Linked DNA regions of Homo sapiens: all the other regions are linked to region 1. Evidence: promoter capture Hi-C in 16 types of primary human blood cells and fetal thymus (Javierre and others, 2016). All regions are on one chromosome and are shown on one strand. The core of a region is centred on a gene start or on the middle of the fragment in contact, and the rest is flanking DNA. Distances in the headings are between cores, read along the strand shown.

Evidence for each region. Contacts are between HindIII fragments. The CHiCAGO score rates a contact against its expected background, and 5 or more counts as called.
Region 2: a fragment that was not itself captured here is called in contact with the fragment with the promoter of CNP in region 1 in 6 of 17 cell types (M2 macrophages, M0 macrophages, M1 macrophages and 3 more); the score reaches 7.1 in M2 macrophages.
Region 3: a contact is called between a fragment that was not itself captured here and the fragment with the promoter of CNP in region 1, in 3 of 17 cell types (M0 macrophages, endothelial precursors and M1 macrophages). The highest score is 7.2, in M0 macrophages.
Region 4: the fragment with the promoter of RAB5C here is called in contact with the fragment with the promoter of CNP in region 1 in 15 of 17 cell types (monocytes, endothelial precursors, megakaryocytes and 12 more); the score reaches 14.4 in monocytes.

Annotation. Positions count from the first base shown.
Region 1 is chr17:41,963,876-41,971,509 of GRCh38, reverse strand. It overlaps CNP (2'',3''-cyclic nucleotide 3'' phosphodiesterase), which reads right to left and starts at 4,715. Exons shown (of 4, transcript NM_033133.5): 1 at 4,623-4,715; 2 at 2,770-3,442. The coding sequence starts at 4,625. ODAD4 (outer dynein arm docking complex subunit 4) reads right to left here. Exons shown (of 12, transcript NM_031421.5): 12 at 5,007-6,517. The coding sequence ends at 6,027. RefSeq lists enhancers at 2,568-3,125, 3,126-3,683, 3,684-4,241, 5,343-5,442 and silencers at 4,213-4,402, 4,533-4,972. The HindIII fragment of the contact is 2,895 bases long and covers 3,622-6,516 here.
Region 2 is chr17:42,203,883-42,211,516 of GRCh38, reverse strand. It overlaps STAT5B (signal transducer and activator of transcription 5B), which reads left to right. Exons shown (of 19, transcript NM_012448.4): 14 at 1,020-1,114; 15 at 1,216-1,346; 16 at 3,789-3,959. Among named protein-coding and RNA genes, the nearest start is that of GHDC, 13 kb to the right of the region's middle. The HindIII fragment of the contact is 508 bases long and covers 3,706-4,213 here.
Region 3 is chr17:42,185,874-42,193,507 of GRCh38, reverse strand. GHDC (GH3 domain containing) reads left to right here. Exons shown (of 10, transcript NM_032484.5): 3 at 1-191; 4 at 481-602; 5 at 766-1,267; 6 at 2,298-2,490; 7 at 2,605-2,676; 8 at 2,751-2,884; 9 at 3,238-3,323; 10 at 3,587-4,421. The coding sequence ends at 3,805. Among named protein-coding and RNA genes, the nearest start is that of HCRT, 4.2 kb to the right of the region's middle. RefSeq lists an enhancer at 1-526. The HindIII fragment of the contact is 6,184 bases long and covers 1-5,945 here.
Region 4 is chr17:42,151,339-42,158,972 of GRCh38, reverse strand. It overlaps RAB5C (RAB5C, member RAS oncogene family), which reads left to right and starts at 3,984. Exons shown (of 6, transcript NM_004583.4): 1 at 3,984-4,080. RAB5C-AS1 (RAB5C antisense RNA 1) reads right to left here and starts at 4,573. Exons shown (of 3, transcript NR_187282.1): 1 at 4,264-4,573; 2 at 3,865-3,974; 3 at 2,050-3,205. It overlaps KCNH4 (potassium voltage-gated channel subfamily H member 4), which reads left to right. Exons shown (of 17, transcript NM_012285.3): 17 at 1,855-2,082. RefSeq lists enhancers at 3,716-3,825, 3,708-4,002, 3,912-4,532. The HindIII fragment of the contact is 7,588 bases long and covers 1-5,247 here.

The DNA of each region.
Region 1 (7,634 bases), core at 3,466-5,965:
AGAGAATTGCTTGAACCCAGGAGGCAGAGGATACAGCGAGCCGAGATAGTGCCACTGCACTCCAGCCTAGGCAACAGAGCAAGACTCCGTCTCCAAAAAAAAAAAAAAAAAAGTTAAAATTCTCTGGCTTTACATTGTATAGATCTTTCCATCTCTTCTCCAAACTCTAAGGCATTTGTAACAGAGGCAGGCAGTACAGGCCAAGGGAATCTAAGATTTACTAGCACCACGTCTCAAAGGGGAAGCAAGTCATGGGAAGTGGGGTGGAAAGAAAACAGAGGGCTGGGAACAACATGGTACGGTGGAAACAGCCAGAACACAGTGAATATCTCAGCTCTGCCATGTACCAGCCATCGGCCTCGGGCAAGTGACCAACCCTATCTATCAATCCAGCACAACAGTTAGGGTGACCATATACCCCAGTGTTCCCAGGACCACCAGGGAACTATCAGTAGTGCCCCATTTCACTCAGGGGCCCATCTGGACAAGCAGTCACAACGTCACCATCAGTTTAATACACACCTTGCAGGCCTATGGGGGGGCCTCCTGGTACAGGAAGGGTCTTGGACTATAATGGGGTGACATTATGGGGCTGGAAGACACAAAGAGGAGTGGAGTATCTGTGATTTTGATTTCCAGACTCCACACCTGTGGCTGTCTTTGGAGTCACTCGCTTTTTCCTGTTATGTTCTGAATTGAGTCCCCATGAGGATGTCTCGCCCTCCACAGGGGAGGAAGGCCTCTCCTGAGAGCAGCCTTGCTGGCCCATTACATTTCTCCTGCTCTAATCCTGGGCAGAAAAATCCAGTTTTCCTTTACAAATAAAATAGGCTGGGCATAGTGGCTCGCACCTGTAATCCCGGCAATTTGGGAAATTGAGGCGGGGCGTTTGAGACCAGCCTGGCCAACATGGTGAAACCCTGTCTCTACTAAAAATTTATAAATTAGCCAGGTATGGTGGCGGGTGCCTGTAATCCCAGCTACTTGGGTGGCTGAGGCAGGAGAATTGCTTGAACCCGGGAGATGGAGGTTGCAGTAAGCCGAATTGCCCCACTGCACTCCAGCCTGGGCGACAGAGCAAGACCCCCGTCTCAAAAAAAAAAAAAAAAAAGATCTGGCAATCATCCTGTCAAGCTTGATTCGTCCCATCTTGGGCCAAGGGCCCCTCCTTTCTTTTGTGCTACCGACCAGCCTGGTCAAGATGGTGAAACCCTGTCTCTACTAAAAATACAAAAATAAAAAAAAATTAGCCGGGCATGGTGGCAGGCGCCTGTATTCCCAGCTACTTGGGAAGCTGAGGCAGAGAATTGGCTTGAACCCAGGAGGCGGAGGTTGCAGTGAGCCGAGATCATGCCACTGCACTCCAGCCTGGGCAACAGAGCAAGACTCCGTCTCATAAATAAATATTAAAAGCAACTTTGAGCAGTAGTCACTCCAGGGCAGAGCCACCAGCTCACAGGTACAGGGCTTGCTCCTGGCCAATGTCACTGCAAGCACCACAGTTCACTGCAGAGTTCAAGTTTAGGAGCTGAGAAAAAAGCTCTCTGAGAACCCATACAGGCACAAATTCCCTGCTTCTGTGCAATATACACAATGTCAACAAACCAGAGTGGGGCTATTTCAGGCATGAAGATCATCTAAAATTGGGGGTGGCTGGGTGCGGTGGTGGCTCACGCCTGTAATCCCAGCACTTTGGGAGGCCAAGGCAAGCGGATCACCTGAGGTCAGGAGTTCAATACCAGCCTGGCCAACATTGTGAAACTCCGTCTCTACTAAAAATACAAAAATTAGCTGGACGTGGTGGTGCACACCTGTAGTCCTAGCTACTCGAGAGGCTGAGGCAGGAGAATTGCTTGAATCTGGGAGGCAGAGGTTGCACTGAGCTGAGATAGCGCCACTGCACTCCAGCCTGGGCAACAGAGGGAGACTCCGTGTCACAATAAATAAATAAATAAAATTGGAGGCAACCAGAAATGGCCTAAAGGCATATAGATGGATTAGTGGGTGGCACTTCTCCAACAGGTCACTCCAGGAGAGCCACCAGGACCCTTCTTTATCTCAAACCTATCATTGGAGCAAAAAGCCCATGCCAAGAGAGAACCCTGCTAGAGTGGCCAGAGTCCAGGGTTCCAGCCCGTAAACCCCACATCCCTCCTGGGTCCATGTTTTTCCATCTGAAAACGGGTTTTGGCCTAAGTGTGAGACTTGTGTCCTCTGGAGCTGCAGATGCCACAAACCCATGAGTAAATTGAGCAGTCCGAGGCCTGAGAACCATCCCCAGTGAAGCCACAATAGTCCTAGTTTTAATTTTTTTGCAGCTTACAATTTCATGTGATTATTATTATTATTTTTTGGAACATGATTCTGCTGCTAAAAATGCGTTGGAAAACACTGGGCTTGATTCCCCCTCTAAGGTTACATTAGAAGAGGACATGTTTCCTGTTACTACAGTAATTTGTTTTTCCCACCTCCAAGACAAGGGACAGTGGTCTACATTCAGGCTGGGAAAAGGGTGTCGGAGAGAAGAGGGCTAGAAGGATAGGTGTGGTGGGAGGAAAGGCGCTCTGGGAAGCCCCCGTGTTCCCAATGTGCTGCCAACTCCCCAAGGCTACCACTGGGACGCACCGCTTGCCCCTGCCCCCGCTGAGGTGAGCCTCTCTCTGCCTCCTGCTGCTTCGTGCTCCATCCTTTGAGTACAATGATGGTCCTTTGCCCGCAGCACCCTGTGCCCAGCAAGGTGGGCTTATAAGGCCCCAACCTGCCACCTACATTGTCGCAGCTCCTTCTTGAAGGCCTTGTGGTTCCCCAGCTCTTCCAGGAAGACCTGGCCGGCTTTGCGGAGGGTCTCAGAGCTCTTCTTGGTCAGGAACCAGCCGAAGTAGAGCGGCAGGAAGTCCTTCTCCAGCCCAGGCTTCAGCTTCTTCAGGTCATCAGCCGACAGCTGCCACTGGTTCTTCTCCTTGAGCTGGGCACAGTCCAGCCGCCACGCCGTCTTGGGCTCCACCAGCACCACCTGGTACTGGTACTGGTCGGCCATTTCAAAGAGCTGCTCCAGCCGTTCCCGTTCGTGGTTGGTGTCATCAAGCACAAGAATTCTGATGTCCCGGCGGCGGCAGTAGGCAGCCAGGTCCTCATCGAGCCGCTTGTACTCCTCGGAGAAGGCTCCTCGAGCGCCGGGGGTGATCTTGTAAGCGTCAGCCGACACCATCTTGGTGCCATCACGGTACTTGTCCACGATGACCCGTGCCAGCGTGGACTTGCCGCTTCCTGGCAGGCCGCGCAAGATGAAGAGCGTCTTGCACTCTAGCAGCGTGGCCACTGTGTCCTCATCCTGAAGGAAGGGAAACTGCAGCTCAGGCTTGTCCTTGGCCCCTGAGGATGACATCTTGCGGAAGAAGATCTTGGGCAGGAATGTGTGGCTTTTTCGGGAGAAGCCTCTGTTCTGTGTAAGGAGGGGAAGAGATGTCAGCCCAGGTCATTCGCGGGCTCCCCGCCGGCCTTACCCCTAGTCCCTAGACTGGTTGTGGGTGCCTTCCCAAGCGGGGCAGTGCTGGACCTTCTTTCCCTTTCGGTCCGGGAGCACCTTTCCGCTTCTGGTCGTGGAGGAGGAAGAGGGAAGCTTGTCTGAAGCTCTCCTAAGCGTGCGCTTTCCCCATTCCTGCCACTTCGGAAAGGTAAACGTGCTGGAGGCATGCGGGGCGCGCCAGGAGCCTGCGGTTCTGGGACTGGCCTCACTCTTATATGCTTGGCACCTACTAAGGACGTCCTCTTTGGAGGTGGGGGTCTCTGTGTCTGGGCCAAGCCACAGCTGCCACGGCTGAGTGCACAGAGAAGGGGGGGAGTGGAGAAGGGTTACCCCAAGACTGCCTCCCTTCCCCCAACAATGGCCGCAACAGATAATACTCTCTTGTCTGGCATGCGGGTACAATGGTCCCACAGAAGGGCTGGTGGGGGGCAGGGCAGGAGAGCACTGGACAAAGGCCCTCTTTCACCAAGCCTGCCACCTCCTCCTCTACCCTCTCCCGGCCCCCACAAAGTCGTGGTCTTTGTGCCTGTCCAGAACAGGGCAGCACAGGGCACCTGCAATTAGGATCCAGCTCTACCCGCCGCTGTGCTGTGTGTCAGAAGCGCCTCTCGGAGCCACTTGTTTTCCTATCTTCTAGAAGCCACAAGGGACGGCAGCTTTTACCGTAAAGGGTCCCCTCCTCTGAACTGGCTCCACCTCCCGCCCGCACCCGGGCGCGGGGCAGCGGTTCCGCGTGATGAGACTGGGCCCGGGGAGGGGGCGCCGAAGCGGCTGCCCCAGCGCGGGCCTGCGTGGGGTCGGGAGCAGCTCCCGGGCTCCCGGCCCAGGCCCACCCAGGCTCCCAGAGGCGCAGCAGCTTCTGCGGTCCCGAGTTCCCTCCTGAGAAACACCACCGTTTCCCTTTACAGCGGCCTCTCCGGCACCCCAAAACCCCTCCGCTTCTCCCAGACCTCAGGGCCGCCCTGAGTACCAAGAAAACTGGAAGTCGAACCCGGAGCCCCGGGTCCTCGTTTGCAAGACGCTTCCTCCCGAGGGGCCCCGACACTCGTTTCCCGCCCTGGTGCTACCCCGTGCCCGGCCCCGCCCGGCCTCTCACCATGATGAGGAGGGGCGCCACCGTCGCCGCCTCTGCCGGCACCAGCGCTCCGGGGCCGCCCGCCTGCGCGGAGGGACACGGGAGTCCAGCGGTGGCACGACCCGAGCCCGGCCGCTTTACATAGCCCGGGGGGCGGAGCGGGCACCCGGGCGGGCTGGGGGCGGGCCGTCTCCTCTGCGCGCAGGCGCTGCGAACCAAAACCCGAAACTCTCGCCGCGCGCGGGAACCTCGGCCCGGTCCCGCCCCCTGCGCGCGCCTGCTCCCCACGCGCACCCACCCACTGCGCCTGCGAGCTGAGCGGCCACTAGCTTTTTCTGCGTGTTGAGGGGTAACTCAGTCACCCTCCCCGGTCCCGTGGATTAGCAGGAAGTGAGTGAGGCAGGGTCGTGCAAAGTCGGATCCTGTCTTTAATTTTTGATATTTTATTCATCATGGACTTTTGCATTAATTAAAAACTTTTTTTTTTACCACATTGGATTAAAATATTATCATGCAATTTGCTGGCATTCCGGTAAACTCTGCATCTGAAATGCCTCACTGGCCTCATTCGTCCAGGCCCTGTGCCAGCCGAAAGTCAGTCTCAGCCCCGACCTTTCCTTCTAGGAGCTGTGGAGACAGACCAGGATGGCAATGGCCAAAGGGACAGATGAGTAACGGAGTGAAATCCTAACATCCTCTGAGGCCAGATCCTCAGCTGCCACCTCCTCTGTGAAACCACTGAGAGCTCCGTTGGATTTTTGAGTTTCCTGTCCAAGTGCTGTGCTAAGCACTCAGTCCTCGCAGCAACCCCTGAGGCAGGTATCCCATTGTTCAGAGGAGAAGCCAGCTTGGAGAGCCTGATTTACCTGATTATGCCACCCAGAGGTGTCAGAGGCGGAGTCTGTCTGCCCTCCCGACTCCCAGGCCACTCCCCTATCTTTGGCCTCACTCCCAGCATTCGCTTGGTTCTGGCTTGCGGCATTCTCCTACCTGTGACAGCTGGGGCCGCCCCACCACTGTTCCATCCATAAAGCCTCCCCGCTGTCCTGCGCACTGGAGGGACTCAGTCAGTCACCGGTGTGTGGGAAGCACCTCTCCTCCCAGGCCTTCCCCTCTCCTCCCTGTGACTTCTTGTTCCCTGTAGCGCCCGTATCTTCACCCTCCTGAAACCCTTTCTTCTTGGCACCTTTCTCATTTCTTCCACGATGCTCTTCCAAGAATGGGCAGGGGTGAAGAGGCAAAGTGACAGACTCAGGGTTTGCAAGAGTGAAAGACACCTATTTAATGGCAAAATAGTGATGGAAAGCAGCAGAAGTAAAACCCTCATTTTTCCTATAACAGACAAATCGCTTGAAAATCCAGTTTAATAAAATCCCATGATCCCTCTGAACACCAGCTTCCTGATCCTCATCTCTACCGATGGCTTCATTCATATTCCTTTTCCATCTCATTTCCTGTTTTTTTCGTTTCTCCTATTTCTCCAAATTGTGTTTTTCCCAGTTCTTCTGGCTCTCTTCTGCCCACTTCTGAAAGTTTCTTTAGTTCTTCTGGTTCCTGTCTGCTGAATTCTCCTGAGAGTCTTTGCTCTAATTCTCCCGAAGGCCTCCTATAAATTTCTCTTGACTCTCTTCTGCCAGCTTCTAGTAGCTTCCTGCCTGTTTCTCCTGATCTTGTGCCTAATTCTCCTGACAGGCCCTTGGCAACTGCTCCCAAATCGCTTCTGGCTTTTCCTGCTTCCACACTCTGCTTTCCGCTTGCTGGGCTCTGCAGAGCTTCCCCAAAAGCCTCATCGTCCTCATCTGTCTCTTTCTCATCCTCACTATGGTCCCACTGCTTCACCACCTTCTCGGGCTCATCTCTCACTCTCCTCATGTCCTTCTCTCTTGTTATTATTCTATCTTCATACAGTGAAGCTTCTGAAAAATAAGAGAAAAGCGGGAAGAAAGATAAAAGTTTGTTCATGTCAGGCCGGGTGCGGTGGCTCACGCCTGTAATCTCAGCACTTTGGGAGGCTGAGGCAGGCAGATCCCTTGAGGCCAGGAGTTCCAGACCAGCCTGGGCGACACAGTGAGACCCTGTCTGTACTAAAAATACAAAAATTAGCCAGGCGTGGTGGTTGGCGCCTGTAGTCCCAGCTACCCGGAGGCTGAGGCAGAAGAATCGCTTGAGCCCAGGAGGTTGGGGCTGTGATGAGCCAAAATCCAGCCACTGCACTGCAGCCTGGGTGACAGAGCAAGACCCGTCTCCAAAAAAGAAAGAAGAAAAAAAAGAAAGAAACTGTTCATCTCTGTGGAGGCCTGTGCTTTTGAGAGGCCGATGAGAGAAAGGCCCTGAGAATGACTGTTTTTGCCAGCTCTTTAAATTGGTGTTGACAGCACACCTTTCCAAAAGCAGAGAAAGGGAACCATCATTGACTGAGCCCAGCTCCGTCCTGTGCATCACGTGAGGGCTGTATAGCTTATCCCATCCAGACATCATGAAAATGCGCACTGCCGTTGATTTGAGTTTGCAGTCAAGGGACCTGAGATCGATAGAAAAGAAATCACACGGCCGGGCGGCATGGCTCACGCCTGTAATCCCAGCACTTTGGGAGGCCGAGGCAGGTGGATCACCTGAGGTCAGGAGTTTGAGACCAGCCTGGCCAACAAGGTGAAACCCCGTCTCTACTAAAAATACAAAAATAAGCTGGGCATGGTGGCAGGCGCCTGTAATCCCAGCTACTTGGGAGGCTGAGGCAGGAGAATCGCTTGAACCCAGGAGGCGGAGGTTGCAGTGAGCCAAGATTGTGCCATTGTACTCCAGCCTGGGCAACAAGAGCAAAACTCCATCTCAAAAAAAAAAAAAATTAACCGGGAGTGGTGGCACAAGACTGTAGTCCCAGCTACTCAGGAGGCTGAGGCAGGAGAATCACTTGAACCTAGGAGGCGGAGGTTGTAGTGAGCCGAGATCGCGCCACTGCACTCCAGACTGGGTAACAGAGGGGAGACTCCATTTCAAAAAAAAAAAAAGGCACAGTGGCTCATGCCTGTAATC
Region 2 (7,634 bases), core at 2,710-5,209, 240 kb before region 1:
TTTTTTTTTTGAGACAGAGTTTCGCTCTTGTTGCCCAGGCTGGACTGCAATGGCACGATCTTGGCTCACCGCAACCGCCGCCTCCTGGTTTCAAGCGATTCTCCTGCCTCAGCCTCCCGAGTAGCTGGGATTACAGGCATGCGGCACCACGCCCCGCAATTTTGTATTTTTAGTGGAGACGGGGTTTCTCCATGTTGGTCAGGCTGGTCTCGAACTCCCGACCTCAGGTGATCTGCCCGCCTCGGCCTCCCAAAGTGCTGGGATTACAGGCGTGAGTCCACTGTGCCCACCCTATTTATTTTTGTTTATTTATTTATTTTTGAGATGGTGTCTCGCTCTGTCACAAGGAGTGCAGTGGTACATTCTGGGCTCACTGCAACCTCCGTCTCCCAGATTCAAGTGATTCTCCTGTCTCAGCCTCCTGAGTAGCCGGGATTACAGGCACCCGCCACCATGTCCAGCCAATTTTTGTATTTTTAGTAGAGACGGGGTTTCACCATGTTGGCCAGGATGGTCTCAAACTCCTGACCTCAAGTGATCTGCCTACCTCAGCCTCCCAAAGTGCTGGGATTACAGACGTGAGCCACCATGCCCGGCTATCACCTTGATTTGAATTTAATTTTTGTTTCTTTTCCTACACCCCCCACCCCCAAGGTGTTTTAAATGTTTAATTTGGAGCCTAACAACGTGCATTTCTCAGAAGCTCCCAGGTGACACTGATGCTTCTGGTCACAGACCACACATCGAAACTAGCAAGGGACGGGTCAGCCCAGTCCCAGGTGAAAGTGTCTGTAGCAGGAGCCCACTGGGTGCTGGTAACTGCAGTTTGGTATTTTCCCCTTCTTCCCTCTTTTCCTCTCCATGGGGCCATTAGGTAAAACTCAGGTAGGCGGGGATATTTGTATGCCTCTGACAAGGGTAGATGTTTGTTTCCCATTTAATTTTTCCAATTAAATATGTGTATAATATTCCAAGTGTTACTCTGGTGTTCTTATGTTCACTGTTGTATCTCCAACCAGGAGAATTTACCAGGACGGAATTACACTTTCTGGCAATGGTTTGACGGTGTGATGGAAGTGTTAAAAAAACATCTCAAGCCTCATTGGAATGATGGGTGAGAATCATTATTTCTTAAGGCGCCGACAGAGTCTGAAGGTCTTCTCTCTGGCATCGTAAGTCACACTCTGCTTCTGTCCTTTGTCCTTGGTGATCCAGGGCCATTTTGGGGTTTGTAAACAAGCAACAGGCCCATGACCTACTCATTAACAAGCCAGATGGGACCTTCCTCCTGAGATTCAGTGACTCAGAAATTGGCGGCATCACCATTGCTTGGAAGTTTGATTCTCGTGAGTGCCCCTCCCTTCTTATGTCCAAAGTTAGCTGCTTTCGTTACAAAATTATTTTAACAAATAATTTAGTGGGTACTTACTATTTGTTGAGGTCAGTACTAATTATGGGAAACATAAATGTATAGCCATGACATACTCATAATAAGGCAGCCTATGAAAAATACTATTATGGGAAACACAATTGCTAATTTGGTTATACATGAAAGTATATGGCAGCATGGTTACACATGAACATTTAACCATGACATGGCTACCTATGATACAAGAGTCCGTGCAGAATCTCAGTTGCTTCCCTCTTAAAATGTTTGCCTTATTGTACTACTCTGCATAAAGCTTATTTCAGTGAAGAATTTGATGATTTGGAGTTCTTACAGTAGTAAAAATATTCCTTTATCCTAATTAACATATGGATATTGCCATCAACCATTTCTACCCAAGATGTTAGTTCTTTTCTTTTTTTGAAACAGGGTCTCACTCTTTTGCCCGGGCTGGAGTGCAGCGGCACAAACATGGCTCACTGCAGCCTTGACCTCCTGGCCTCAAGCAGTCCTCCTCCCTTAGCCTCCCGATTAGCTGGGACCACAGACGTGCACCACCACACCCATCTAATTTTTAAATTTTTTGTATGTTGCCCAGGCTGGTCTCGAACTCCTGGGCTCAAACAATCCCCCACTTTGGCTTCCCAAAGTATTGGGATTACGGGCTTGAGCCACTGCACCAGGGCATCAGGAAAGTTAGTTCTCTCCTCTGACCCTCACAATAAGGGTAGCTTGCTGGTTCATTTTCTGTGAATTAAAGTTTTTAATAACTTTTGGCTGGGTGCGGTGGCTCATGCCTGTAATCCCAGCACTTTGGGAGCCTCAGGCAGGAGGATCTCTTGAGGCCAGGAGTTCAAGCCCAGCTTGGGCAACATAGTAAGACCCTGTCTCTAAGTAAATAAATAAATAAATAAGTTAATTAGGTGGGCATGGTGGTGCTCATGGTGTGCGCCTGTAGTCCCAGCTACTCTGGAGGGTGAGGTGGGATGATCACTTGACCCTGGGAGTTCAAGGTTACAGTGAGTCATGATCACATCACTGTACTCCAGCCTGGGCAACAGAGTAAGACCCTGTCTCTTAAAAGAAAAAAAAAAAAAGGCTGGGTGCGGTGGCTCACGCCTGTAATCCCAGCACTTTGGGAGGCCAAGGCAGGCGGATCATGAGGTCAGGAGATCGAGACCATCCTGGCCATCACAGTGAAACCCCCGTCTCTACTAAAAACACAAAAAAATTAGCCGGGTGTAGTTGTGGGCACCTGTAGTCCCAGCTACTTGGGAGGCTGAGGCAGGAGAATGGCGTGAACCCGGGAGGCGGAGCTTGCAGTGAGCCGAGATCGCGCCACTGCACTCCAGCCTGGGCAACAGAGCAAGACTCCATCTCGAAAAAAAAAAAATTCATCACTTTTAATAGCTCTTATGCTTTCTCTGGTTGTGGGCATGCTTCCTAGCTTTTATATATCTTTGTATGGGAAATCAGGGATTGGGGGCCAGTAAAAACTGTTTCTTCTACTGAGGGCTAGAATACTGTTTGAACTTGAAACGTCTGAGATCATTGGATCTCTTGGGAAGTGATTTTTGTATTACCTGCTTATCTACCCATGGCTTTTATTTTTATTTATTTATTTATTTATTTATTTTTGAGATGGGGTCTCTGTCACCCAGGCTGGAGTGCAGTGTCATGATCTCAGCTCACTGCAACCTCCACCTCCCAGCTTCAAGCCATTCTCCTACCTCAGCATAGTACCTGGGACTACGGATGAGTGCCACCACACTTGGCTGATTTTTGTATTTTTAGTAGAGACAGGGTTCATCATGTTAGCCAGGCTGGTCTTGAACTCCTGACCTCAGGTGATCCACCTGCCTAGGCCTCCAAAAGTGTGGGATTACAGGCATGAGCCAACATGCCTGGCCCCTACCCATGGCTTTTAAAACTATTTCAGGCCGGGCACGGTGGCTCACGCCTGTAATCCCAGCACTTTGGGAGGCTGAGGTGGGTGGATCATGAGGTCAGGAGATCAAGACCATCCTGGCTGACATAGGGAAACTCCATCTCTACTAAAAATACAAAATTAGCCAGGTGTGGTGGCGCGTGCCTGTAATCCCAGCTACTTGGGAGGCTGAGGCAGGAGAATCGCTTGAACCAGGGAGTTGGAGGTTGCAGTGAGCCAAGATCGCACCACTGCACTCCAACCTGGTAACAGAGTGAGACTCCGTCTCAAAATAAGTAAGTAAGTAAGTAAATAAATAAAAGTATTTCATCTATAACCCATGGTTATTTTTAAATGGAGATTTCTATTGGAGCCATTATAATGGCAAGCTTGAATTTATAGTATGTTGGGGTTTTAAGATTTCCTAATTCAGAAATCATGTTTAGAATGTGATTGTTCTGTTTATTGATCTAGAGGAAAGAATGTTTTGGAATCTGATGCCTTTTACCACCAGAGACTTCTCCATTCGGTCCCTAGCCGACCGCTTGGGAGACTTGAATTACCTTATCTACGTGTTTCCTGATCGGCCAAAAGATGAAGTATACTCCAAATACTACACACCAGTTCCCTGCGAGTCTGCTACTGGTAACAATGTTCGCATTCTGATTTGATTTTGTTGTGTGTGTGTGTGTGTGTGTGTGTGTGTGTGTGTGTGCATACCTGCGTGTGTTATCTCTCTTGTGTGAAAACCCACACAATTACCATTCAGTGAGAGCAGTTTGAGCATTTTCCAGGGCAGATGTAAACCTTGGGCTGGATTCTTCAGTCATACAGAAAACACATCTACCACTAACCCCAAATATCAAATTGAAGAAAACAAATTCTTTTTAATACAAGCTTAGATCAAACAAAATTAGGTAAAATTTTGTTTTTCATGACAGAGATGGTTTTATTGCTTTCTGAGTTTAGAAGTATTACATATTTATTATAAAATTTTCAGAAGACACATAAAGGCATAAAAAAGAAAACAGGCTGGGTACGGTGGGTCATGCCTGTAATCCCAGAACTTTGGGAGGCCAAGGCAGGCGGATCATTTGAGGTCAGGAGTTCCAGACCAGCCTGGCCAACATGGTGAAACCCTATCTCTACAAAAAATACAAAAATTAGGTGTGGTGGCAGGCACTTGTAATCGCAGGTACTCGGGAGGCTGAGGCATGAGAATCACTTGAACCCAGGAGGTGGAGATTGCAGTGAGCTGAGACCACGCCACCACACTCCAGCCTGGGCAATAGGGTGAGACTCAGTCTCAAAAAAAAAAAAAAAAGGAAGGTCGGGCGTGGTGGCTCACACCTATAATCCCAGCACTTTGGGAGGCTGAGGCAGGCAGATCACCTGAGGTCGGGAGTTCAAGACCAGCCTGACCAACGTGGAGAAACCCCACCTCTACTGAAAATACAAAATTAGCCTGGCATGGTGGCGCATGCCTGTAATCCCAGCTACTCGGGAAGGCTGAGGCAGGAGAATTGCTTGAACCCGAGAGGTGGAAGTTGTGGTGAGCTGAAATCGTGCCATTGCACTCCAGCCTGGGCAACAAGAGTGAAACTCTGTCTCAAAAACAAAAGAAAAGAAAACAAAAAAACAGATACCACACAACATCTCTCATCTAGAGATTAACCTCTATGGATGATTTAGTGACTATTCTTGCACTCTATATATAGATATGTATTATACATTGCATCACCCGTTGCTTGAACTTCCTGTGTGGAGGTTATCTAGCAGCAGAACGAAGACCATAAACAAGGAAACATATTCAGGCCGGGCGCGGTGGCTCATGCCTGTAATCCCAGACTTTTGGGAGGCCGAGGCAGGCATATCACCTGAGGTCAGGAGTTTGAAACCAGCCTGGCCAACATGGTGAAACCCCATCTCTACTAAAAATACAAAAAGTAGTCAGGTGTGGTGGTGGGCGCCTGTAATTCCAGCTACTTGGGAGACTGAGGCAGGAGAATCGCTTGAACCAGGGAGGCAGGAGAATTGCTTGAACCAGGGAGGCAGAAGTTGCAGTGAGCCGAGACTATGCCACTGCATTCCAGTCTGGTGACAGAGCGAGACTCCATCTCAAAAACAAACAAAACACAAATATATTAATTTAGTGATGGGCGCCCTGAAGACAAATAAAGCAAGGTAGAGGGATAGAGAAGTGGCAGGGAGGAGAGTGGAGGTGTTATTTTACTAGAGTGGTCAAGGAGGGTTTCTCTGAGGACATGTTTGTTTTTTTTGTTGTTGTTTTGTTTGTTTGTTTGTTTGAGATGGGGTCTCACTTTGTTGCCCAGGCTGGAGTACATTGCTCACTGCAGTCTCAAACTGCTAGACTCAAGGGATCCTCCCACCTCAGCCTCCCACATAGTTGGGACTACAGGCATGCACCACCAATCCTGGTTAATTATTTTATTTTTATAGATATGGGGTCTTGCTGTGTTTCCCAGACTGGTCTCAAATTCCTGGGCTCAAGCAATGTTCCTTCCTCAGTCCCCCAAGGTTCTGGGATTATAGGCATGAGCCACTCTACCTAGCCAGGATGTGATGTTTGAAAAGACCTGAATGAAGTGAGGAAGCTAGCCATACAAAGATCTAGAGAAAAACATTGTATGCCAAGAGAACAAGTACAAAAATCCTGGGTTGAGAATGGCCATGTCTGGAAAGCCTCAGGAGGGCCAGGGAGGCTGGAGCCTCTTGAGCAGGGAAGATAAGTGGTAGGAACTGAGGTCAGGACACTCCAGCCTTGGAGTTCAGGGTGAAAGGTTGGAGTCTAGACCATATCATATGTAATTTTTTGTGACTTTTTTTTTTTACTTGGAAATATATCCTAGGTAGCTGGGCATGGTGGCTCATGCCTGTAATCCCAACACTTTGGGAGGCCAAGGCAGGTGGATCACTTGAGGTCAGGAGTTTGAGACCAGCCTGGCCAACATGGTGAAACCCCATCTCTACTAAAAAACATACAAAAATTAGCCGGGCATGGTGGCAGGTACCTGTAATCCCACCTACTCAGGAGGCTGAGGCAAGAGAATCACTTGAACCCGGGAGGCGGAGGTTGCAGTGAGCCAAGATCACACCACTGCACTCCAGCCTGGGCAACAGAGCGAGACTCTGCCTCAAAAAAAAGAAATATATCCTATGCAGAGTTACAGCTCAGTAAATGTAATCTTCCAACCTCATTTTGATGACTGCATACAATCCCACTGTATGGTGAGTTACATGTTGGTTATTTAAGATACTTATAATTTGGGCCTGGGCACAGTGGCTCATGCCTGTAATTCCAGCACATTAGAAGGCGGAGGAGGAAGGATTGCTTGAGCCTAGGAGTTTGAGACCAGCCTGGGCAACATAGTGAGACTCCATCTCTACAAAAAAGAAAAAGTTAGCTGCGCTTGGTGGCGCATGCCTGTAGTCCCAGCTACTCAGAAGGCAGAGGCTGGAAGATTGGTTGAGCCCAGGAATTTGAGGCTGCAATGAGCTATGATTGTGCCATTGCACTGTAGCCTATGTGACAGAGTAAGACCCTGTCTCAGAAAAAAATAAAATCCTATTTCTGGCAGCATTTCTTTGTTTTTAACTTCTTAGCCAATCTATAAAATACTCTGTACACTGTAAAGCACAAAAAACATGTTATGAAAAGGTCGCTCCTGACACTTGAAGCCCTAGAAGAAGATTAGGGTAATAAGCAATTGGTGAACCCTGCAGCGTTTCACCCTCTTGGGCTACTTAAATGACAAGCTCCTTGTCCTATAATCATAGTGTGATCGTCCTTGCCTAGTATAATTAACTTTGTACTGATTCCCATATTCACGTACCCAGAAACAAGACTTCATTCTCCCATGTCAGATAATCACATTCTTACCACCTGCTTACCTGGATTTCCATAGTCAGCCTTCTGAAAAGGTAACTGTGGTTGACCAGATCACGTGCAGGTTTATCTGCTCATCTGCCACATCCCAGTGGGGATTCTGTGGGAAGCAAAGGACACATCGCATTCTTGGCACCAACAGCACTCACTGGGACTAGTGACATCAAAGTACCCCAAATGCAGAAACACCAGGCGTGAAGGAGCGTGCAGGTGCTGGGAAAAGTAGCCTTCCCTTTCCTGAAAGACTAGACACTCAGAGTTAGAGGAACCTCAGACATCATCAGATCAGATCAGCGGCTCTCCAGTGCCTAGGCCTTTCCATTAGATCCCTGACGTGTATGCACCTCCTGCTTGAAAACCTCCGGTGATGGCCAGGCACCGTGGCTCACACCTGTAATCTCAGCACTTTGGGA
Region 3 (7,634 bases), core at 1,604-4,103, 220 kb before region 1:
GGATGCCAGGCTGTCCTGGCTTGCTGGCCTCCAGCACCGAGTGGCATGGGGGGCCCTGGTCTGGGCAGCCACCTGGCAGCGGCGGAGGCTGGAGCAGAGCACGCTCCATGTGCACCAGAGCCAGCAGCAGGCCCTGAGGTGGTGTCTACAGGGAGCCCAGCGCCCCCACTGTTCCCTCAGAAGGAGCACAGGTGTGTTTCCCAGGGTCTGGGGAGGTGACCCAAAGAGAAAGAAACCCCACAGGACCGTCAGATTCCAGAGCCTGATGGCCCCCTTACCTCCTCCACTGCCAACGGAGTGGCCTGACCCAGAGACCCAGGACTGGCTTTCTTGTCCAAGATGAATTTCCCATGCTGGGTCCTTACATCCTCTCTACCCCAGGCCTATTCTCGGTTCCTCCCTCAAGGGTCTCACCAGTCTTGCCTGAAACTCTTGGGAAACTGGCTTCCTGAGGCGTTTCTGTTGTCATTGGGGCTATAGACATAAGCACCTTCCGGAATCATCTCCCTCTGACCAAGGCCAGCCAGACCCAGCAGGAAGACAGTGGAGAGCAGCCACTGCCCCCGACCTCAAACCAGGACCTTGGGGAGGCCTCTCTGCAGGTAATCTAGGATGGCCAGAGCCCAGTCCTGGCCACAGCCCAGTCCCACCAGAGACCTCTGACTTGCAGCCAAACCCTCCAGTCATGGTGGGCAAAGAACCCCCAAATGGGGGCTCTGGGTCTGGCTCTGACACCAGACCAACATTCTCTCTTTCCTCCTCCAGGCCACCTTGCTGGGTCTGGCAGCCCTAAACAAGGCCTACCCAGAAGTGCTGGCTCAGGGACGCACTGCCCGTGTGACGCTTACATCCCCTTGGCCCCGACCCCTGCCTTGGCCTGGGAATACCCTGGGCCAGGTGGGCACCCCTGGAACCAAGGACCCTAGGGCCCTGCTGCTGGACGCACTGAGGTCCCCAGGGCTGAGGGCACTGGAGGCTGGGACGGCTGTCGAACTTCTGGATGTTTTCTTGGGCCTGGAGACTGATGGTGAAGAGCTAGCTGGGGCGATAGCTGCCGGGAACCCTGGAGCGCCTCTCCGTGAACGGGCAGCTGAGCTCCGGGAGGCCCTAGAGCAGGGGCCACGGGGACTGGCCCTTCGGCTCTGGCCAAAGCTGCAGGTGGTGGTGACTCTGGATGCAGGAGGCCAGGCCGAGGCTGTGGCTGCCCTCGGGGCCTTGTGGTGCCAAGGACTAGCCTTCTTCTCTCCTGCTTATGCTGCCTCGGGAGGTCAGTGGGACTCAAGGGCAGTGAGGTGGGGGCAACGGTCAGTGGTCACATGACAAGCAGCCATGCATTGGGCCCTACATAATCATCTCATTTAATCCTCCCCAACAAGCTGCATGCTAGGGCCAGCAGCCTCCTTTTACAAGTGAAGAAATTCAGGCTCTCTAGGTTAAGAGTCTTGTAGCTGGGTGCAGTGGCTCACGCCTGTAATCCCAGCACTTTGGGAGGCCAAGGTGGATGGATCGTTGAGGTCAGGAGTTCCAGACCAGCCTGGCCAACATGGCGAAACCCCATCTCTACTAAAAATACAAAAACTAGCGGAGTATGGTGGTGCACGCCTATAATCCCAGCTACCTGGGAGGCTGAGGCGGGAGGATTGCTTAAACCTTGGAGGCAGAAATTATAGTGAGCTGAGATCGCGCCATTGCACTCCAGCCTGGGTGACAGAGCAAGACCCTGTCTCAAAAAAAAAAAAAAAAAAAAAAGGCCGGGGCAGTGGCTCACGGGTGTAATCCCAGCACTTTGGGAGAGGCTGAGGTGGGTGGATCACCTGAAGTTAGGAGTTTAAGACCAGCCTGGCCAATGTGGTGAAACCCTGTCTCTACTAAAAATACAAAAATTAGCCAGGTGTGGTGGCAGGCGCCTGTAATCTCAGCTACTCAGGAGGCTCAGGCAGGAGAATCACTTGAACCCAGGAATCACTGAATCACTGAGCCGAGATCGCACCACTGCACTCCAGCCTAGGTGACAGAGCGAGACTCTGTCTCAAAAAAAAAAAGAGTCTTGCACAAATTCATGTGGCACCAGGATTCACTCCCAAGTCTGCCCCCTCCAGGACCACAGCACTCTGCCTCTTTCCAGTGAGGGCCTAAGAGGCAGCCCGCTGAGGCTGGGGGAGCCAGGAAGGATGTGGTGGAAGGGCAGCAGGAGGATCAGGTGCTCAGAGGATCAGGCCTGGGATCCAGGAGGGGCTATTGCCTGGCAGAAAGCGATGGCACCAGCAGACGCTGAGGAGGCTGCTTTGCTTTCACAGGGGTGCTGGGCCTAAACCTACAGCCAGAGCAGCCCCATGGGCTCTACCTTCTGCCCCCTGGGGCCCCCTTTATCGAGCTGCTCCCAGTCAAGGAAGGCACCCAGGAGGAAGCTGCCTCCACCCTCCTTTTGGCCGAGGCCCAGCAGGGCAAGGAGTATGAGCTGGTGCTGACGGACCGCGCCAGCCTCACCAGGTGATCAGCTGCACAGCCCCTGCTACCTGGGGCCCTATGGGACCGTGCTGGGGGCCTGGGGCATGAGCTCAGAAGACCTTGGGCCCGACCTCACTCCCACTTGCACCCCATCAGGTGCCGCCTGGGTGATGTGGTGCGAGTGGTTGGTGCCTACAATCAGTGTCCAGTCGTCAGGTTCATCTGCAGGTAGGTGACCCCGGGGAGCTGAAGGGCCATCCTTGTGTCCTGGGCTCCACTGCCTCTCCCTTCCTCCTCTTCAGGCTGGACCAGACCCTGAGTGTGCGAGGGGAAGATATTGGTGAAGACCTGTTCTCTGAGGCCCTGGGCCGGGCAGTGGGGCAGTGGGCGGGGGCCAAGCTGCTGGACCATGGCTGTGTGGAGAGCAGCATTCTGGGTGAGCCTCCCCACCGGCTCCTGCCTACCATCCTTGAGCTACCCTTCAACTCCTACCTCCCCTGCCAGGGGACTGCTAGGAAAGAGATAAGCCTCCTTTACTACTCCTACAAAAGTCCTTCTCTGCATCTAACTCTCATCCATCCTGCTGCAGTCTCTACCCATTTTCTTTCCTGATCTGTCTCCTATTTAGGATCAAGCTCTAGGTTCCTCTCCATTTACCCCACTCCCCACCAAGAAACTCTTTTTTCCCTATGAATCTCAGAGTGGGGAAGAACAGATAGGGCAGAGGACACTAGACTTGGCAGCTGCCCATTCACCGGAAGTATGTGTGCACATGGGGTCTATTCACAGATTCCTCTGCGGGCTCTGCTCCCCACTACGAGGTGTTTGTGGCGCTGAGGGGGCTGAGGAATCTGTCAGAGGAAAATCGAGACAAGGTAAAGGAGACGAGGACAGGGTCTGACTGTAGACCCCTTCACTCTGCACACTCCCAGGGTGCCATGGAGATCAGGGCTGATGGGAAGGAGAGGGGTGGCGGAGGAGAAGCTCCCTGGGGCTCTGGGAGGGGAGGGCTAAGTCCCACAGACACACACCTGTCCACACAAAACTTCTAAACACATGTAGCCTGGGCACAGCCACACACGCCTCGTGTGCACACTCACAGTCACACACCAGCTCACTCAGGCTGTTCTGTTCCCAGCTGGACCACTGCCTTCAGGAAGCCTCTCCCCGCTACAAGTCCCTGCGGTTCTGGGGCAGCGTGGGCCCTGCCAGAGTCCACCTGGTGGGGCAGGGAGCCTTCCGAGCACTCCGGGCAGCCCTCGCTGCCTGCCCCTCCTCCCCCTTCCCCCCTGCGATGCCCCGGGTCCTTCGGCACAGGCACCTGGCCCAGTGTCTGCAGGAGAGGGTGGTGTCCTGAGTCAAGTCCTGCCCCACCGCCCAGCTCCCCCCAGAGGCCACCTCGCCCCTCCCTCTGGGACCTCTCCGGATGGGGAGTCCTTGGCCAGGGTCTCTGACTCTGTGTCACCTGACATTTGCCCATGAGAGCCGCTGGGCCTTAGAGAGGCCTTGGCCCAGCTGACCGGTTCTGAAGTATGGGCCTCCGGGGTTAGCAGATGCCAGCAGTGCCTGCCCGTGTCCCCATGTCCCGGCATGAAGGACACTGCTAGAGAGTTACCATGCACACCGATGGTTTCCTGTATCACAGCCCAAAGAGGTTCTCTGGTGGCCACAGCTGTGTGCTCAGTCAGTGCACTGGGCAAGCTAGAAGTGTTGGGGGGTTAATGTCCCCAGGAGCAGCAACCCTGAGTCAATAAGGAGCAGGACCTCAGCTTCATTGTCCTTGAGCAGGACAATTCTGAAGTGTATTCTACATAAACTCTCAGAGGATGCCCAGCAGGATGGAGTCCCAGTTGCCCGCAGCAGTAACCCACTCATTCATGTACTTCCTGCGGGGGCTCTCCCTTCCCTCTCTTCCCCACTCCCCCGCCTTGGGCTTCCTGGGATGGCTCCCAAATAAACCTCTTGCACCCAGATTCTTGCCTCAGGGTCTGCTTTGGGGAAACGGGAGTGGACCCCGGCCCAGCCATTCCCCCACTGAGCTCCAGGACTTTCCCCCAACATTCTGCTCTGGGCCTGGCAAGGCTGCATGCGCACACAGGAGCCTTGGAGGACTCGTGGCACATCCTAGGCCAGCACCCACAAACCACTTCTGCGGTGGGGAAGGGAGAGCTATTACTTCACATCATAAGGCATCGCCGCAGGAAGCAACTCCGGAGACCATCTGGGTTCACTGTTCCATACTAATGAGGAAACGCAGCCTCCACAAGGTTGTAGAGGCTAAAATAAAAGAAAGAAAGAAACTGGGCTAGATTTTGGCTTCCTTCCCTCCCACTGCCTGGACTGGAGTTTTAAGGTTTTCCATCTTGGAGGCTGATGGGAGGGGCAGACCTCAGCTCCTCCTCAGTAGAGGCAGCACTGGATCCAGATGCCTCTGAATAGCTTCTCCATTCCATGTCCCACACCCAGGTCCTGGCTGCATACCCACCCGGCCCCCACCTCCGCCTGTCACTCCATCCTGTTAAAATCTTCCTGTGAAGCTGGGCACAGTGGCATGGGCCTATAGTCCCAGCTACTCAAGAGGCTGCGGTGGAAGGATGGTTCATGCCCAGGAGTTCAAGACCAGCCTGGGCAACACAGCGAGACCATCTCGGGAAAAAAAAACAAAAAAAAAAACCTCCCATGGTGGCCCCCATCGCCCACAGGATTAAGACCAATCAATTTGGCCTATTAGACCCTTTGACCTTGGCCCTCACCTACATGTGCAGCTACCTCTCTCCCCTTGCTTGAAAGAAGGCCTGGACTAAGGACCACGCCTCACCTCCCATCTAAGGGTTGTTAAGCACTGTCAACTCCAGGAGTTTGCTCAAGTTGTCCCTTCTATGTAATGCCCTCTATCCCGCTGCCCCTGATGTAAACTAGCTTTCATGCAAGGCCTTTGAGGACCCCCTACCAGGCCCACCCCAGGCAGAGTGACTGGCTCAGCTTTGCTCATGTGGGCAGTAGTCCTCTCCTTCACTGAACTATCATTATGCCTGAACTGCCTCCCACCTGGAATATGAGTTCCTTGGAAACTGGGCTAGATCCTGTGCACAATTGCCCCCATGCCCAGTGCCTGGTGTGGCATGCAGCAGGAGCTCAATAAAGAGGTTGTAGGCCAGGTGCCATGGCTCATGCCTGTAATCCCAGCACTTTAGGAGGTCGAGGCAGTCAGATCACCTGAGGTCAGGAGTTCAAGACCAGCCTGGCCAACATGGTGAAACTGTGTTTCTACTAAAAATACAAAAAATTAGCTGGGCATGGTGGTGTGCACCTGTAAACCCAGCTACTTGGGAGGCTGAGGCAGGAGAATTGCTTGAACCCAGGAGGCAGAGGTTGCAATGAGCCAATATCGTGCCTTTGCACTCTAGCTTTGGCAACAAGAGTGAAACTCTATCTCCAAAAAAAAAAAAAAAAAAAAAAAAAAAAAAAAAAAAAAAAGAGGTTGTGAATAAGAAGCTTGGGCCTGGAGATGACATGTGTTCTTCAATGCATGGCGGCTCACTCCGTGTTGACTGTAGAGTGGGACTACATTCCTCCCCTCCAGGTAGCCTGAGCCAGGGAGAAAGCTGGGGAGGTAGAAGCTTTCTATCAGCCTCTGGTAGAAACTGAGTTTGGTCAGGCACAGTAGCTCACACCTGTAATCCTAGCAGTTTGGGAAGCTGAAGGGGGAGGATGGCTTGAGCCAGGGATTTGAGACCAGCCTGGGAGTCCCAGTCTCTACAAACAAATTTAAATATTAGCCAGGGATTGTGGCATGCATCTGTGTGGTCCCAGCTACTTGGGTGGCTGAGGTGAGAGCATTGCTTGAGCCGTGGCATTTGATGCTGCAGTGAGCTATGATTGTCCCACTGCACTCCAGCCTGGGTGACAGAGTGAAACCTTCTCAAGAAAGAAAATAAAGAGGGCTGGGCGTGGTAGCTCACGCCTGTAATCCCAGCACTTTGGGAGGCCGAGGCGGGCAGATCACGAGGTCAGGAGATCGAGAACATCCTGGCTAACACAGTGAAACCCCGTCTCTACTAAAAATACAAAAAATTAGCTGGGCGTGGTGGCGGGCACCTGTAGTCCCAGCTGCCAGGAGGCTGAGGCAGGAGAATGGCGTGAACCCGGGAGGCGGAGCTTGCAGTGAGCCGAGATCGCGCCACTGCACTCCAGCCTGGGCGACAGAGTGAGACTGTCTCAAAAAAAAAAAAAAAAAAGAAAGAAAAGAAAAAGAAAAGAAAATGAAGAAAGAGAGAAGGCCAGGCATGGTGGCTCATGCCTGTAATCCCAGCACTTTGGGTGGCTGAGGCAGGCGGATCACCTGAGGTCAGGAGTTCCAGACCAGCCTGACCAACATGGAGAAACCCTGTCTCTACTAAAAATACAAAATTAGCCAGGCATGGTGGCGCATGCCTGTAATCCCAGCTACTCAGAAGGCAGAGGCAGGAGAATTGCTTGAACCCTGGAGGTGGAGGTTGCAGTGAGCTGAGATTGCGCCATTGCACTCCAGCCTGGGCAACAAGAGTGAAACTCCGTCTCAAAAAAAAAAAAAAGAAGAAGAAGAAGAAAGAAAGAAAGAGGGAGAGAGTGAGAGAGAGAAAGAAAGAAAGAAATGCAGGAAGGAAGGAAGAAGGAAAGAAGGAAGGAAGAAAAAAAAAGCGGGGGGGCCTGGTGCAGTGGCCCACGCCTGTAATCCCAACACTTTTGGAGACTGAGGTGGGTGGATCACTTGAGGTCAGGAGTTTGAGACCACCCTGGCTAACATGGTGAAACCCTGTCTCTATTAAAAATACAAAAATTAGCTGGTTGTGGTGGCGTGTGCCTGTAATTCTATTCAGGAGCTATTCAGGAGGTTGAGGCAGGAGAATCGCTTGAACCCAAGGCGGAGGTTGCAGTGAGCCAAGATGACCATACCACTGCACTCCAGCCTGAGCAACAAGACCAAAATTTAGTCACACACACACACACAGAAAAGAAAGAAAGAGAAATTGGGCTTGGTTTTGGCTTCTTACCTCCCACTGTCTAGGCTGAGTTTTCAAGGTTTTCCATCTCAGAGGCTAGTGGAAAGGGCAGAAGGGAGAAAAAAAGCTAGGGGGAGGGGGCAGCTAAGGAGCCTTTCCATGAAGGAAGAAGGTCCTGGAGCCTGACAGTCCCCAGGAGCAGCG
Region 4 (7,634 bases), core at 2,735-5,234, 190 kb before region 1:
GTGGTTCATGCCTATAATCCCAGCCCTTTGGGAGGCCGAGGTGGGAGGATCGCTTGAGTCCATGAGTTTGAGATCCACCTGAGCAACATAGCGAGACCCTATCTCTATAAAAAAAATATATATATATATATTTTTTTATAGACGGAGTCTCACTCTGTCACCCAGGCTGGAATGCAGTGGTGCAATCTCAGCTCACTACAAGCTCCGCCTCCTGGGTTCATGCCATTCTCCTGCCTCAGGCTCCCAAGTAGCTGGGACTACAGGCGCCCGCCACCACACCCGGCTAATTTTTTGTATTTTTAGTGGAGACAGGGTTTCACCATGTTAGCCAGGATGGTCTCAATCTCCTGACCTCCTGATCCGCCTGCCTCGTCCTCCCAAAGTGCTGGGATTACAAGTGTCAGCCACCGCACCCAGCCTATAAAAATATTTTTTTTTTTTTGAGACGGAGTCTCACTCTGTCGCCCAGGCTGGAGTGCAGTGGTGCAATCTCGGCTCACTGCAAACTCCGCCTCCCGGGTTCACGCCATTCTCCTGCCTCAGCCTCCCGAGTAGCTGGGACTACCGGCGCCTGCCACCACGCCCAGCTAATTTTTTTGTATCTTTAGTAGAGACGGGGTTTCACCATGTTAGCCAGGATGGTCTCGATCTCCTGACCTCATGATCCACCTGCCTCGGCCTCCCAAAGTGCTGGGATTATTTTGAAAAATATTTTTCAAAATATTTTTCAAATTAGCCAGGTGTAGGCTGGGCATGGTGGCTCACGCCTGTAATCCCAGCACTTTGGGAGGCCGAGGCAGGTGGATTACCTGAGGTCTGGAGTTCGAGACCAGCCTGACCAACATGGAGAAACCCCATCTCTACTAAAAATACAAACATTAGCTGGGATGGTGGTGCATGCCTGTAATCCCAGCTTCGCGGGAGGCTGAGGCAGGAGAATCGCTTGAACCTGGGAGGTGGAGGGTGCAGTGAGCCGAGATCGTGCCATTGCTCTCAAGTCTGGGCAATAAGAGTGAAACTCCACCTCAAAAATAAATAAATAAATAAATAAAAATTAGCCAGGTGTAGTGGTGAGTGCCTGTGGTTCCAGCTACTCCAGAAGCTGAGGTGGAAGGATGACTTGAATCCAGGAGTTCAAGACCAGCCTGGGCAACATAGCAAGACACCCCCCCCACCCATCTCTATACAAATTAAAAAATTAGCCAGGTGTAGTGGTGTGTGCCTGTGGTCCCAGCTACTCTGGAAGCTGAGGTGGGAGGATCTCTTGAGCCCAGGAGGTTGAGGCTGCAGTGAGCAGTGATCACACCACTGCACTCCAGCCTGGGTGACAGAGTGAGACCCTGCTCAAACAAAACAAAACAAAAAAAACCTCAGGACATCAGGCTACCGTGGGCCAACATTCCATCTGGCAATAACTGGCAATCAGCTGGGCTGGGTGGCCACTGTCCTCTTTAGATGGGATCTGCTCTGCACTCTACTTCGCAGTCACCACGTTTCTTGATCATCTCCCGACACCCAGCTAGCTTCCCTTGTTTGAAATTTTTGTTTGGTCTCTGTGGGTATTTGAGTTCTCAAAACTTGAGTGTCCATCAGAACTACCTGAGATCCTATTAAAACGCAGATTCTGCCAGGCGCGGAGGCTCAAAAAAATAAAAAAATAAAAAGCAGATTCCTGGGCCTCATCCAATTTGGAATGTCCGGGGTGGAGCCCAGGGGTTGAGTTTGCAACCTCTGCCTTACCTAACAGTGTGTTCCCAGGTCCCTGTGCCCAACAGGTGCTTTTTGGGCCCAGTAATGTCTGCTTCTACTCCTAGGCGTGGGTCTGTCAACATCTCTGTTTCTGTCTCTCTGCAGGCTGTCTCTCAAGGTGGTCTCTTCTGCTGCTAGCAACTCAAAAATCCCAACAGCACTCCCTATCCTTTCCCTGACCCCAGACCGCTGCCAAGCCTGTTCTCCCCCATTACAACATGGTCTCACTCAGGGCCTGGACTGCTCCAAAACTCGCCCAGGTCTCCAGCTCTCCTCTACCACCCAACACCCTGGGCTCACTTTTGGATAGGAAATAAACTCTTTATTTTTGTAGTTATTGGCTCTGGGTGTTTCTGGGGGTTACTCTGAGAGCCCCAGGGCTTTGGAGGAGCCAACACAGCAATCACTCCCCACCCTCACCTTCGTTGTACCCCAGGGCCCAGTTGCTATCTCTAGGAAGGGCAGAGGCACCAGCCAATCTACTTGGCACCACATTCACACCACCAGGGGCCCCAGGGTTGAGGAAGAAACTTAATTAGTCACTATGGGCCTATTATACCCCCTTCTCTCCCCTGCACCCCAGTCACAGCCATGTATGCACACAGTATGTGGGAAGGACAGAGTCCTGGCTTTGGCCCACCTCCAGCCTTGGAAAGGTGGGCCTAGGGGACTACCCATCCCTCCTGTATAAGGAACTGTTCCAGAACTGGGTATGGCAAGGGGGCTGGGGGAAGAGCTTGTCACCAGCCAGAACCTGCTAGGAATCCCACTCTGCCCCATCCCCTCTGTCCTCCCAACAAGCCCTCTCTTCCCTCTTCCTTTTCACTTCTCATGAACACTGGCGCGGAAGTGGGGATTGTGTGTTATGGGTGTAAGAAAGAGAGACGCCCTGATGACCAGATGGAACTAGATGTGGGCACAGTTTTGTGGCAGGTTGTCCAAGACAGGTAAATTCTCCAGCTGAGGCTCCAGGATATGCCTGGTGTTGGCGTTATAGGCACAATGGCCACAGCTGTCTCCGGTGAGCTTTGATTCCACACAGGTTTTCAGTAGTGTCCCTTGAGGATGAGATGCAAAAGAAGAGGAGGTACTGGTTTGTGTTGAGAGGTAAGGGTGGGAGGAATCAGGAGCGGGCCCAGTCCATATTGAGAGGAGCAGAAAAAACAAATATTCCTGATCCATAGAGGGGGAGAGTGCAGAGTGGGGGTGGTTCTAGTCTTTATTTACGGATGGAGAGGGCCGAGGCAGAGGTTGTCCAGCTCTGTATTCCGCGTCAGAGAGAAGAGCTGACCCTGGCTAGGAGCAGGGGAAGGCAGAGGCAGAGATGGTCTTTGTGCCGGCCCCCGCACACACCAAGTAGGAGGTGGTGGCAGAAGCTCTCCCTTTGATCTCACCCAGCATCCTGCAGAGAACTCTTCCTGCAGCGCTTTCCTCACCTTCCCAATCACAGACGCCCCTGGCAATCGGGCGGACAGTGCAGACAAGGGCTTCTCCAGATCAGCGAGTTCACAGGACTGAGGCCTCGCGTGCATATTCATTCGCACCACGTTTTTTCTTTCCCAATTCTGCACACACAATCCTCTGCCTTCTTCCAACGCTCCACCACCCGCCTTCCCTCGGGGCGTCCGGAACCGGCGGTGACGCGGATGGCAGGGTTAGCCTTAAAAAGTTCCCGGCCGTAGGCTGGGCGCGGTGGCTCAGGCCTGTAATCTCAGCACTTTGAGAGGCCGAAGAGGGCGGATCACCTGAGGTCAGGAGTTCGAGACCAGCCTGGCCAACATGGCGAAACCCCCGTCTCTACTAAAAAATACAAAAATTAGTCGGGCGTGGTGGTGCGTGCCTATAATCCAGCTCCTCGGGAGGCTGAGGCAGGAGAATCGCTTGAACCCGGGAGGCAGAGGTTGCAGTGAGATCGCACCACTGCACTCCAGCCTGGGCGACAGAGTAAGACTCCGTCTCAAAAAAAAAAAAAAAGTTCCGGCCGGGCTCCGCCTCGCAGTCAGCCGGCTCCACCCTAAGCCCAAGTCCCAGGCAGCCACTGACTCCTCCCAGCGCTGCGAACTACAAGTCCCGCGATCCCTCGCGCGCTCCCTACCGCCACTCCCGCGTTCCTACCGGCGCCGCTGGGTAGGTCGGCCAAGAGTGCCTCCCATTGGTCTCCGCACTGTCAATCACCTGGGAGTATTGAGGGGCGGGGCGGAGGTGGAGATCCGGATCCGGAGCGGCTGAAAGGCGGAAGTGGAGGCCGGAGCCTGGGACACCGCCGGCGGGGAGAGAAGCGGATCCCGTCCGAGCCCCGGCCCCAAGTAACGCCGCCGCCCCGGAGCCGCCGTGAGTATGCTTGTCCCAGGACCTGGTGTCTCGCCTGCGTTGAAGCATCTCCAGGGCAGCCCTTCCTCCCGCCCAGCCCCAGTTTAGGGGGATACTGACCCCTCCCCCGACCCGTAGCCCCCTCTTGAGGGGCTCCCCAGGCGTCGGGCCATAGGAGGTGGGGAGCTTCTTTCCTTAGCTTACCTGCCTTTGGTGAGCCTTAAGGAAACCGCTATGACTGTCCTCTGGCCTGTCCATTCTAGTTGTGGGAGAGAGGTACCCTAAGTTCCGCTCCCCCTGCTTCCAGAATCGGAGGATCTTTGCTAGGTGTGAAGGAACCTGTCCCTCTTCTCTTTTAGAAGTGACAGGGAGTGCTGTCTGTCGCCGTTTTCCTTCCTCCTGTCCCACAAAACCAGTTGTCCCCTCTAGCCCTAGAGGAATATCTCGATTTCCTTTGGGGGAGGGGGGTCGTCTGGGTGAGACCGTTCCACACGCACAGAAGTGTGTGTGCGCTCCCGCAACTCCTTACTTCCTCTCTTTCCTCAAGCCAGAGAACCAACCAGGACCTCAGCTGAGTTTAAAGTCACTTACTAGAAATGAGCTGTTTTCCTGTTTTGCCCCTTCTGTCTCCCAGCCCTGTCCTCTAGTTATGTTGTTCTTTGAGTGTCTCTCTCTTTCTGCCTCTGAAGAATTTAGCTGAGGTTTGCTCAATCCTAGCTACAGATCACAGATCAGGGTGGATGTGCCCATTCATTATCTTCTTTCCCCTCCCCCCTTGCTCCAGGCTCAGCTCTGTCCTCCCAGAGCACGTGAGTGGTTTCCCAGCCGCCTCAAAGGGACTGCTTTTCTTGGGACTGCTGTCCGTGTGTCTATAGGGAGGAGAATAAGACCCAAAATGAGGAGTCTGGAATTGAAGGGCCATCTCTTTCCCACTCCCAAACACACACACATACACCTCCCTGAGCAACAGGTCCACACCACGCCAGGGTCTGTCTGCAATCCCTTCAGGGCTTGGACTTATTACTGAGGACTAAGTCAAGATCACAATGGCAGTTCTGGATTTTTAATTGTAGCCTGAGGAATTCCGATACATGCCAGAAAGTGCAGGTTCCCTCAACCATATTGACTGATCCTTGTCTGTTGCTTGGGGCTTAGGTGTGTGAAATAGCTGCTGTCTCAGACCAAGCTTTGTTATGTGGCCAAAGTACAGGCCGGAGACTGTACCTTAACGAGGAGTAGCCTGGCTCTGAGGCCATGACTGACCCTTGCTATCTACAGTGGAGGAAGGGACGGAAAGCCGTGCAGTTTGTGGGAACTTCTGTAGCTCTTCAGTGTTCTGGGCTACCTTTACCACCCTCGCTTGCCACTTAAAAGTGCTGTGTTTTTTGGCCTTGAGGTGTGTTTGAGGGCTTCTGGACAGTGGCTAGTATCTGATTCCTACAGTCTTTTGAGTAGAGCTAGGATGTACTTTCTTCACTTTTTTGTTTGTTTGTTTTTGAGATGGAGTCTTGCTCTGTCGCCCAGGCTGGAGTGCAGTGGCGTGATCTTGGCTCACTGCAACCTCTGCCTCCTGGGTTCAAGCAGTTCTCTTGCCTCAGCCTCCTGAGTAGCTGGGATTAACAGGCGCCTGCCACCACACCCGGCTAATTTTTGTATTTTTAGTAGAGATGGGGTTTCGCCATGTTGGCCGGGCTGGTCTCGAACTCCTGACTTCAGGTGATCCACCCGCCTCAGCCTCCCAAAGTGCTGAGATTACAGGTGTGAACCACCGTGCCCGGCCTACTTATTTCACTTTTTATCGGACAACAGAAGAAGCCTTCCTTATTAGGGTCAACAGCTGGATCACAGGCTCTGTATCTGTGTGGGTTCCTTTGGGGTTCATTGGAGACTTCTTCAACCAACCTAGTTTCTCTGATCTGGTCAGCCTGGGCATCTGAGGGGCAGGGCCAGAGAGGCCTGACTGCTCACTGGCCATTGGTCTCTGACCAGACTTAGGTCTTCAGGAGTAGACCGCAGTTTGTCACTCTTCAGGAGTGCTGGGATGAGGCCGACCAGCCTTCTGAGGAGACCTTCTTTTCTTTGTCTGGACATGCTCTCCCAGCTCTGACTCTGAAACGACTTTTTTTTTTTTTTTGGAGACAGAGCCTTGTTTTGTCACCCAGGCTGGAGTGCAGTGGCACAATCTTGGCTCACTGCAGCCTCTGCCTCCCGAGATCAAGGGATTCTCCTGCCTCAGCCTCCTGAGTAGCTGAGATTACAGCCATGCACCACCACGCCCAGCTAATTTTTGTATTTTTAGTAGAGATGGGGTCTCACCATGTTGGCCAGGCTGGTCTCGAACTCCTGACCTCAGATGATCCACCCACCTCAGCCTCCCAAAGTGCTAGGATTACAGGCATGAGCCACTGCACCCAACCTGAAACGACTTTGAAGGGGAAGCTCTGCCATTTAGAGAGACGAGGCAGGCCCCAGTGCTTTGGGTCGTTATGCAGCCACTTCTGGCACCTAGAAATTATAGAGTCCAAGCAGAGGTCTGACTCTGCCTGGCAGAGAGAGCGATGGCTCCGTGTGCGACAGAACCCCTCCTTTCTGATGCTGTTCCTCCCCTGCCCTCTTGCCTCTCACAATTAGAGGGCTGTTAAACTGTAGAGGGACAGTAACACTAATTTTTAAAAATCATTTTAAGGTTGCAAAATTATTTTCATACATATTCCTCATAGGTGCCTTGGGAAATAGTGGGGCTTGTTTCCCCACTTTGTTTTTAATTTTTATTATTACTTTTTTTTTTTTGAGTAAGATAAGGCAAGTGTCCCTGCTTTAGAAGGGATGCAGAAGGAACTTAAGTAGTTTGCCTAAGATCGATCATACATTTAGAAAGTAGTAGAGCTGGGGCTTGGATTTGGGGTCAGATGTGACCTGATCTAACAGTGGGCCCTTCTTCGGCCTGGTTTGTTCGTTAAATGAATGAACATGCAGACTGAGTGCGCCACGGCACAAGGGCAGACTCTTAACTCTTTAGCCCTCCTCATCACTAGCGCTCCTCTGTTTTTTTGTCTTCCCCAGCGTCTACCCGACCTCCTGTCTTCTCTCTTGACCCCTTTCACCTCTGCCTCTGAGGACCAAAACAGTTAGGAGTCCCAAGTCAGTACTCTTCAGGGCCTGAGAGTTTGCTGACATCTACATGTCATTAATTTTTCTGGGAACCTGAAAGTCCTAATGGCTAGAAAATGAAAGTTAAAGTGAGTAAACTCAGGGGTCCCACTGGGCAGGGTTAAGGGGGAAGCAACAGAGCGGGCCTCTGGTTAGTCCTCTGTTTCTCCTGTGGTGCTGCCTGCTGCTTGCAAGTGGGAAGAATGTGGCTTGCCACCAGGAGCTCCTGTCACTAGAATTTACATGGAAACAGAGCAAGATCATACATTTAAATTCAGCCCCACCAAGCAAGTACTTCTTAGACCTTCTACTTCTTTTTTTTTTTTTGAGTCGGAGTCTCGCTCTGTCGCCTAGGCTGGAGTGCAGTGGTGCGATCTTGGCTCACTGCAAGCTCCGCCTCCCGGGTTCATGCCATTCTCCTACCT